Regions from separate parts of the Homo sapiens genome. Here regions 1 and 2 are each linked to region 3. The links are contacts of gene promoters, found by promoter capture Hi-C in blood cells and fetal thymus (Javierre and others, 2016). All regions are on one chromosome and are shown on one strand. The core of a region is centred on a gene start or on the middle of the fragment in contact, and the rest is flanking DNA. Distances in the headings are between cores, read along the strand shown. Region 1 holds the start of CRIP2 (cysteine rich protein 2). Region 2 has its middle 12 kb from the start of TMEM121. Region 3 holds the start of JAG2 (jagged canonical Notch ligand 2).

Region 1 (3,118 bases), core at 377-2,876, 310 kb after region 3:
GGGACCCCTGGGCCTGCCAGGGAGGAAGGGCTGCCCAGAAAAGGTACTGACTGATGCCTCCTCACCATCTTCTGCCTTGGCTGGCACAGGTCCCAAGTGCAGAGGGGGAGCTGGTCAGGCTGGTCAGTCGGGCGGGGGGGCGGGGGGCATGTTTCTGGCCTGCTGTCACCATGGAAATGGCAGTGGCTGCAGGGTGTGTGTGCAAGGGAGGAGGGTGCTGCCACAGAGAGCCCAGCCAGGACCACCATGAAAGCCAGGAGCACCGAGGGCCTCTGGTTGGCTCACAAACATGCCTGGTGCACCAGGCAGAGGGAACAGGTAGGTCTCCGTGTCCAGCCCACAGCCTCCAAGACACAGGGGGAAGGGTGTCCAGAGTCAGCTGCCCCCATAGGGCCTGATCACTGGGCTTCTGGGATCTGCCTGTCTCCCAGGCCGACGCTCAGCTGGGGCCAGAAGGCTCAGAGAAGGGCCCATGGGGACAGAGCACCAGGAAGCCCGTGGGTGCGGAGGTTCCCCACCTGGGGCCAGGCTCTACGGGGCTCTAGGGCGGAGGCACTGTGGTGAGGCGTGGTCAGGCACGCCCTGGTTGGGAGGAGGCCAGAGTGGGGGTGTGGGGGTGCGGTGACTGGCATGACCCCTCAATCTCCCGCCTGACCCCTCGAGGTCAGGCCCTGGGCCCCCAGGCACGCAGCTGGTCCTGGGCGGTGCGGGAGAAGGGACTGGAGTGTCAGCCCCAGCCCGGGGCACAGAGGGCACGCCCACTCCTTCCCCTCCTTCCCTTCCTAACTCCTCACCGCCTCCCCGGCCGCCCCCTGGGTGGAAGTGCTTGGGGTGGACGCCTTAAGCGCGGATCCCTCGGCGCTGGTGCCCGCCGCCCCTTCCCTGCCTGGGAGGCAGACGCAGACCTCCCCACACCCCCTACCAGCAGCTTCTCGAGCTGTTTCTGGAGGTGGCGGCGCCTTCCTTCCTGAGCCCTGCCCTCCACCCAAGGAGCCTTCAGCACCACAGACAGTGTTGGGGCGGGGCGCGGGCGGGGGCGGAGCGGGACATGGAGACCCGGACAGGGCTGGGGGCCGTGCCCGCCGGGAATCTGACTCCGCTCCCGCGGCGCGGCTGTTGCTATGGAAACCGAGCAACAAAGGGAAGCGGGACAGGCGCCGCGCGCGGCGGGGTGGGGGTGGGGTTCTCCCGGAGCCTGCGACCCCTTCCCGCGGCGGAGCGCAGCCTGGGCGCCCAGGGCCGGGAGTGTTGGACCCCTAGGCCCAAGTCACTAGGGCTCCCCGAGAGCCGAGGGCCAGGCTCCCCGCACCCTGCCCGCCGCCCCGGGGACGGCCCGGCCAGGCGGCCCCGACGTCGCCATGGAAACAGCCGGGGCGCGGGCGGCGCCGCGGTCGCCCGGGCGGGCCCCTGTAGACGCCACCTCCGGCGCGAGGGGCCCGGGGGCGCCAGGCCTGGCCCGGCTGCCCCGCACCCGCCACCCCCGGCAGGTGCGCCCCGCCCCCGCGGCGCCCCCAGGCGGCCCCCAGCCCGGGGGACGGGTTATCGAGGCCCCGCCCCGGCCGCGGAGCCAATGGGCGCGCGGACAGCCGGGCAGGCGGGGCTGGGCGCGGGCGGCGGCGGCCCGGAGGAGAACGGGCGGAGGGCGCGGGCCGACCGGGCGCACCGACCATGGCCTCCAAATGCCCCAAGTGCGACAAGACCGTGTACTTCGGTGAGTGCGTGCCCGCTCCCGGCCCGCTCGGTGCATCCCGCCGCCCTTCGCGGCCAGTCCCGCGCCGCAGAGCCGCGGCGTAACTCGGGGTGCGCCCGGCCCCGGCCCCGGACCGAGGATGCGCGTCCCGGAGGCTGGCTGGCCGCGCTGCCCAAGCGGCTAAAGCCAAAGGGTGGGGCTGCGCGAAAGCGGGGGCGGTCACGCCCGAACCCCGAAGCGGCTTGTGGGGGCGGGGCAGGGACCACCCGGGCGGGGCTTGTGGTGCCCCGGGATGAGGCCAGTGTTTGGGGGAGCGCTCGGGGATCCGCGGACGCATCCCGGTTCCTCGGACGGCGCCGGGCGGGGCGGGGCAGGGCGTGGCTGTACGCCCCGGGTGCGTCCCGCGCGCTCCCGTGGGCCTGGGCCCTTTCTCCTGGACCCCCTACACCCGCTTCCCCCGGGAACAAGTGGCCGGGAACAGTGACCCCCAGCTCCCACTCCGGGCTCCGCTGAGCTGGGCTGGGCCAGGTTTGGACTCTGTCGGGATTCAGTCCAAGCGGGGGCGACCTTGGCCTCTGCCTCCTGCTTGTCCCGACGCATTCCCTTGGCGCCAGTTCCCCCAGGAGTTTCACACGGGGGTAGGGTGGGGGCGGGTGTGACACGCGAGTTCCCGCGAACGTGAGAGGGACCTTGTGCTCAAGCAGCCCAGGTGTCCAGGATCCCTGCCTCCTCAAGGTCAGAACAGCCCTGGACAGGATGCAGGTGGTGGCGGGAAGAGGGATGTCTCGCAAGGCGGCCCTCGGTCTAGCCCCTCCGGCAGGCGCGCTCCCCCCGTCTGGGCTTACTCACTCTCTGGGCCTGGGTGCGCCCTTCCTACCCCCTTCCTCCTGGCTGATTCGCTGCCCAGCTTTCTCCAGGGTGGTAAGGTCCCTGCCCACCTACCCACCAGCTGCTGCACGAAGGGGGGCAGACTTAGTGAAGCAGAGAGGAGGGCCGGGACCAACAGGGCGCCTGCCCTGGTCGCCCCATACCCAGAATGCGGCCAGGCTGCAGGGAAGGCCGCCACTGGGCTTCCCCGGCTCACAGGCTGGAGGGGGTTGAGGGGAGGTTGTATTTTGCCCGTCCCAGAGGGGAGGGACCGGATTTGGCCTGGAGTGCTTCTGGCGTGGCTGGGAGCCGAGGGGCTTCCGGCTGCCTCTCCTGGAGCCCGCTCAGCCCTCAGTCTCTGTCCCAGCGAGGGCTGTCTCTGTAAGGCTTAGGGTGGGAGACGGTCCCCAGGGCCCTTCTGCAGTCCAACTGCCCATGACTTTACCCCAGGCCGGGCCAGGCCAGCCTGGGGCTCTCCAGGGTCTCGGCCAACAGTCCTGTGGACAGCCCGGAAAGGCCTGCCTGCCTGGCCCGCCCAGCCTCTCAGCGGAAAACAAAGGC
Region 2 (3,232 bases), core at 714-3,213, 370 kb after region 3:
CCACCTCCTCACTCACACCTGCTGCTGGCAAATCCTCTGGACAAAGTGCAATGCTGCAACATTTTACAAAACAGAGTCGCCCTTGATGGTCATAATGGCCGAGAAGGAAAACTCACGACGACGGAAGCCATCGACTGGCGAAATTTGATATGGATGAGCACCGGCCCGTGGTTCAGGTTTTCGTAGTAAAATTTATGTGGGGGAGAATTTTTTTTTGAGAGAAACGTGTGTTTAATGGTAAAAATTAGCATACCCCATCACCAGGAATGGCGTGGAGTAGGGACGGGCAGCAGGGACAGGCAGGTGACCCCTGTGGAGCCTCACGTGGCGAGGATGAGGAAGACGACCACCAAACAGAACAGCCCCATGGCCTCAGACACAGCAAAGCCCAGAATGGCATCGGAGATGAGCTGCTGCTTGAGAAACAGATTCCCGGCATAGCCAACAAGCTGCCAGACACCGTTCCAATGCCAGGCCCGAAGCCAGCCACACCGACAGGGGCTGCCCCAACACCAATCAACGTGGCTGCTGTGTCAACATCCCGGGAGACAGCTCTGGTCTGGAACTCCCACCTGGCCACCTGGTGTGGGGAGCGGCTGTAGGAAGGCTGTTCAGATGAATTTTCTGGGCTGTTCAAGAAGGAGACAGACACAGCCTGATTAGACCCGTGGTACAACAGCGGACCAGAGCTGGAGAGGTGAGTAATGCCCGGGGGTCTGCATTTTCTGTCTGCACTCCCACTGCCCTGCAGCACCTGCGGGCCCACAGCACTCGCCCGGCTGAAGGTGACCTAAGGTGACCGACTCACTTTTACTCATTGCTTATGAAATAAGCTGAATGTGGAGATCATCGGAAACATGTTTCAAAGTGCGTGAGCCTTGAGGAAAGCTTTCTCCCGCCCTCATGAGTATCCGCCCCAGGGGGTGCTTTCCTCGAGAGCTGGTCCGTGTTGCGTTCCCACAGTGAACACTTTCAAGGCTGCTGCGGGAAGTTGCACAGAAACGGCTGGTGGGCCTGGAGGGGATGGTGAGGCGCAGTGGGCCTGTGTACCGGATGCCAAATCCACAGCATGGGAGGCAGGGCCCACTGCAGGAGCCACACAGCAGCTGTGTGCTGCTCTCCCACCTGCAACCTGCACCTGTGGGGTGCACCTGAGTGACCCCGGCCCCCCGGGGTGTCTCTGGGATGCCTCCTAGGAGGAGAGGCTCCACGCCTGGAGGGAGACAGGTATCACACAGGTGCGTGGGGTGGAGTGTGATGCAGGGAGGTTGGGGCAGGGCCACACAGAGAGACCCCACTCAGGCAGGCCTTGGGTCAGGGTAGGCCTCACCAAGTGATATTATGTTGGGACTGGACCGTGGCCAAGGCTGGCCTGCAGGCAGGGGGCACACATATTCCTGGCAGGTGAGGCTGCCCACAAAGCTCACCTGCCTGAGAACCCTACCTGGCTGGGGCATGCGGGAGCCTCTGGACCTTCGCGCCGGCGGAGCCTGCAGTGTCGCCAGATGGCCACAAGGGGGCTCCCGAGCCCGGCTCTGGGTCCCTTTGAGGAGGGAGCCGCGGGACCCGGCTGTGAGACCGGGACCTGCCAGTGGTGCCCCGACCCCCCGACCCCACAGGACCCTGCGCGGCCAAAGGCTGAGGCTGCCCCAGCCCCAGGCTGTGCTGATGCCCCTGACCAGAACCCGAGCCCGATTCTGCTCACTGAACACTCATCTGCTCCCTTGCCTCTGCCTGCCCCGGCAGCGAGGGCCTGGCCAGTGGGTTCGTATCAACTCCCACGTCACCTCCCGTGTCATCTGTGTGTCACCTCCATGTCACCTCCTGCATCAGCTGTGTCACCTCCCACATCACCTGCATCAGCTGTGTCACCTCCCACATCCCCTGCATCAGCTCTGTGTCACCTCCCACATCACCTGCATCAGCTCTGTGTCACCTCCCGCATCACCTGCATCAGCTCTGTGTCACCTCCCGCATCACCTGCATCAGCTCTGTGTCACCTCCCGCATCACCTCCTGCGCCACCTTTGTGTCACCTCCCGGCTGACCATGGCCCAGCAGCATCTCCCTGTTGCAGCGTCCGGAGAGGCTGCGGTTGCACGGGGTGGGCTAAGGAAGGTGGGGCTGCCTCAGCCTGGGCCCTGAGTGAGCTCTGGAGTGGATCCCACCTCCCCACCAAAGCCCAAGCAGGAGACAACCCTTTGCTGCTGAAGCCACTGAGCGCTTGGGGCTGTTTGTTTCGGCCTCGTCCCCGACGGACGTGTCTCCCACAGTCCCAGGCCCTGAGTGCAGGTCCACACTGAACCTTGACGCTCATCGCAGACTGACCCTGGCTTGCCCTGGGTCACACTCGGGCTGAGGCCCCGACAGCCTGGCCCGGTCGAAGCTCCCCGGCTTATCTCACTCACTGTTGTCCAGGGCCCAGCCTCACGGTGACATCTGCCACAAGAAGGCTGGGACTCTGTCCCACTTGTGTTCAGGAACGAGAGACCCTGACTTGGTGTCTGTTATCAACACATTACAAACATCACTGGGCATTACAAAAGATTTCTGAGGGCTGGGTGCTGTGGCTCACCCCTGCAATCCCAGCACTTTGGGAGGCTGAGGTGGGAGGAGGATTGCTTGAGCCCAGGAGTTTGAGACCAGCCTGGGCAATGTAGTGAGACCTTGTCTCTAAAAAAATTTTAAAAATTAGCCAGGCATGGTTGCGCGTGCCTGTGGTCCCAGCTACTCAGGAGGCTGAGGCAGGAGGATCACCTGAGCCCAGGAGGTCAAGGCTACAGCAAGCAGAGATGGTGCCACTGCACTCCAGCCTGGACAACATAGCAAGACCCTGTCTCAAGAAAACCCACACAAAACACAAAGAAAGAAATAAAAATCCAGATTTCAAATAATTTAAACTTATTTATCCAACACAAAGCAGTTCTTCATGGCACACTTTAAACTTCGAAATTCTTTGCTCTCCCCATGCTTGGCTGATTGGGTCTGGGGCAGGCGATGGTGCTCACTGGATCCAGTTTCTGACAAATCTGGATTGAGACAAGCTTCAGAACTGGCCCAGATGATCAATTTTCATATAAGTTAAGGTGTCCTCCTTGTTCCACAGCTTTTAGTGATTTTTTTTTGTTTTTTTTTTTTGAGACGGAGTCTTGCTTTCTCGCCAGGCTGGAGTGCAGTGGTGCGATCTTGGCTCATTGCAACCTCCGCCTCCTGGGTTCAAGCGATTCTCCTGC
Region 3 (2,949 bases), core at 334-2,833:
ATCCACTATCTCTGTCTCTGAACGATCTTGGGTCACCATCGGGGGCTTCTGCCGACATAAGCGTTAGGCGTTAGGCTCTCCCGGGCCTAGGTCCCACGGCGCCCGCCCGTGCCCCCCAGGCATCCAGGAAACTGCAGGGCAGGCGCAGGCTGGCCACGGGCCCGGGGCGGCTCAGTCAGGGCCTGCCCTAGACCAGCCCCAGCACGCGCTGCGCACATGCCACCGCGGCCTGCCCGGGACCGGGGCGCCTCGCCTCGCCTCCCCACCCAGACAGACACGCGCAGGGCGACGCAGGCACACGCCGCACACCGCCGCGCACGCGGGACGCCGCCGCCCCGCCCCCGCCGCGACCCCGCTCCCGGTGGCCCCGGGGCCCCGGCGCGCCCACGTGGCCAGGCGCGGACCAAGTCCCCAGAGCACGCGCCCCCTGCCGGCCCCGCCCCGCCTGGGCGCGCGCGGCTCGCACGCAGACCCGGCCGCAGGTGTTGGGGGTCGCGAAGCGCGCGGGGCCGGGGCGCGGAGAGAGAGGGAAGGGCTGGAGCACGAGGGATGGAGCGCACGTACCGGCCAGGCGAACTGGAAGGGGATGACGACGAGGCCCGGGTCCTGGTCGCCGCCGGCCCGGGCCCGCGCCCGCGCTCGGTCCCCCGCAGCGCCCGCCGGCGGCAGGTAGAAGGAGTTGCCGCCCAGCACGGGCGTGGCGCCGTGGCCGTAGCTGCAGGGCCCCGTGGGCGTCACCTTGGCCTGGTACTCCTTAAGGCACACGCGCACGTACGTGTCGCACTCGTCGTGGCCGCAGCCCCCCGCGCGCGTTGTCCGGCCGTCGCCGTCACAGCAGGCGCCGCTCAGCAGCTCCCCGTTCACGTTCCGCAGCGCGCTCAGCTGCAGCTCGAAATAGCCCATGGGCCGCGCCGCCTAAAAATAAGGCAGCGGGAGAGCGGAGGGAGGCGCGGGCCGGGGTCGGCGGGCCGGGCGCCAGGGGTGGGGGAACAGGCCCCGCCGCCCCGCCCCCACCCAGCCGCGCCCGCCCGGAGCCCCAGCCGCCGCGCGCAGCCTCGAGGGCTTCCGAACCACGGCGGCCCCAGGCAGTGCCCGCCCGGCCCCTAGGGGCGGCCCGGTGTGCCCCGTCCGCGACCCCCGCCGCCCCCGCCGCCCCGCTCACCTGCACCCAGAGCGCCAGCAGCAGCAGCAGCCGCCGGGGAAGGCGCCCCCGGCCCTGCGCCCGCATTGCCCCCGCGACCCGCCCGCCCGGCCCCGCCGCCGCCGCCCGCGCCCGGCTCCCAGCCGCCGCGCCGGCCTCCCAGCGCCCGCCCGCCCTCCGAGCGCCCGCAGAGGCAGCGGCAGCGGCAGAGGCGGCGGCGGCGGCGGCGCGGGCGGGGTCGAGCGCAGCGCCGCGGCGCGCGGGCCTGGGCGGCGGGCGTGCAGGGGCGGCGGCAGCTCCGGCTCGCTGGCGGCCGCGCTCCGGCTGCCCGGCCCGGCTCCCACCCGGCGGCGACGGCGGCGGCGGTGAAGGCAGCGGGTCCCGGCCTCGGCTCTGCGCGCCCGCGCTCCCGGCACCGCAGCCAACAAGTTCGGAACGAGACTGACAGCTCGCTCGCCCATTCGTCACCCGCGCACCTGCATATGCATGAGGGGGCGGGGCCGCGCCGCGGGGTGGGGCCGGGGGGGGGTCCGGGGGCGCCCCAGGCTTTAAAGGCGGTGGAGGGCGTCGCCTGCCAGCGCCCCGGCCCGGCGCGCGCCCCCCAGGGCGCCCGGGCGGCGGGGGCACGGGGCCTCGGGGTCAGCGCGGGCCGCGGGGGCCCCGCTCACACCTCCGCGTGAGTCGGCGAGGCGTGCGCCGGCGCCGCAAAGCTGCCTCCCCTCCTCCGCCTGGGCTCCTGCCGGGTGTCAGAAACCGGGGGTGGGGCGCCCCGAGGTTGCCGTGTGGTCCCCTCCCATCAGTGCGCCACCGCCGCGCTCCTCGCAGTCCCAGAGGAGATGCCGCCTCCTACTCTGATCAGGGCTCGGCCCCCACGCGGGGTGGCGCGGCCCTGGGGCCAGAGCCGGGCCCAGCCCCTACTGCGCGCCCCCCACCTCCTCCGAGAATCTCCCCTTCTCCGCGCCGCTCCTACCGCCTCCACGCCGGCTGCAGGGGGCGCTGCGCCCCTCCGACGCCCCTGCCTTCCCCTCTGCGAGGCGCGCTGGTCAAGCAGCCAGTCAACAAATGCTCCAGGGTGCAGACTGCTCAGCTCGGCGCTGGCGTCGAGGTAGCCAGGCCATGCCCTCAGGAAATGCTCAGGCCACATTCCCCGTTTCCCGCCTCTCGCCCCCCAAACTCAGGTCTGGGCTTGGGGGGCGAGAGGCGGGAAATGGGGAACAAAAGTCGGCAGTGCCTGTCCCTGAAGGCTACCCCGAGAGAGGCCTCCCACTGCTGCCCTGGTCACCAGGCTTCCACACCCCATCCTCTGCGGTCACCTCCTTGCCCTCTCCCTGGGTGACCTCGCAGCTCCTCCACAGGGTCAAAACCAATGGCACCTTCCTCTCCTCCAGTGAGCACGGTCCTTTCCAGAGCTAGGGGTCACCTTGGTGGTTAAAGATCCCCATATGGTCCAGAGGGGTCCTCAACCCATCCCCATGATAACTGAGCTGTCTTCTCTCCCCCTAGCTCCTCTCGCAAATTTGCCCTGTGCCCGGAGCTGGGTGGCTGTGCAGCCCCCCAGCCTGGAGCAAGTCACTGCCACCATGCTGCTGGGGCTGAGGGCTGAAGGAAGAGAGCTTTGGAGGCACAGGGCCTGTGAACACCCCATGCGCAGGGTCTGCCTGCTCCATCCCTGTTTAGCAGCTCCTCCAGGATCCAGGCCGCAGGCTCAGCTGAAGGTCCCTAAAGGGGTGGGTGGGAGCCCCCCATGCCCACCTCAGCTGGCTCTGCTCAGAGTGCCCACCCCAAACTTGGTGGTGGGTAGGCTTCGT

Evidence for each region. The method cuts DNA at HindIII sites, captures the fragments that hold promoters and counts their contacts. A CHiCAGO score of 5 or more calls a contact.
Region 1: the fragment with the promoter of CRIP2 here is called in contact with the fragment with the promoter of JAG2 in region 3 in 3 of 17 cell types (monocytes, non-activated CD4 T cells and total CD8 T cells); the score reaches 7.9 in monocytes.
Region 2: a fragment that was not itself captured here is called in contact with the fragment with the promoter of JAG2 in region 3 in 4 of 17 cell types (total CD8 T cells, naive CD4 T cells, naive CD8 T cells and 1 more); the score reaches 7.1 in total CD8 T cells.

Annotation. Positions count from the first base shown.
Region 1 is chr14:105,473,195-105,476,312 of GRCh38, forward strand. CRIP2 (cysteine rich protein 2) reads left to right here and starts at 1,627. Exons shown (of 8, transcript NM_001312.4): 1 at 1,627-1,711. The coding sequence starts at 1,669. RefSeq lists an enhancer at 69-601 and silencers at 630-679, 690-779, 870-1,019, 1,290-1,359, 1,540-1,649. The HindIII fragment of the contact is 47,861 bases long and covers 1-3,118 here.
Region 2 is chr14:105,536,530-105,539,761 of GRCh38, forward strand. It overlaps the pseudogene ATP5MC1P1. Among named protein-coding and RNA genes, the nearest start is that of TMEM121, 12 kb to the left of the region's middle. The HindIII fragment of the contact is 2,155 bases long and covers 887-3,041 here.
Region 3 is chr14:105,167,193-105,170,141 of GRCh38, forward strand. JAG2 (jagged canonical Notch ligand 2) reads right to left here and starts at 1,584. Exons shown (of 26, transcript NM_002226.5): 1 at 1,163-1,584; 2 at 565-915. The coding sequence starts at 1,228. RefSeq lists an enhancer at 306-805. The HindIII fragment of the contact is 17,945 bases long and covers 1-2,949 here.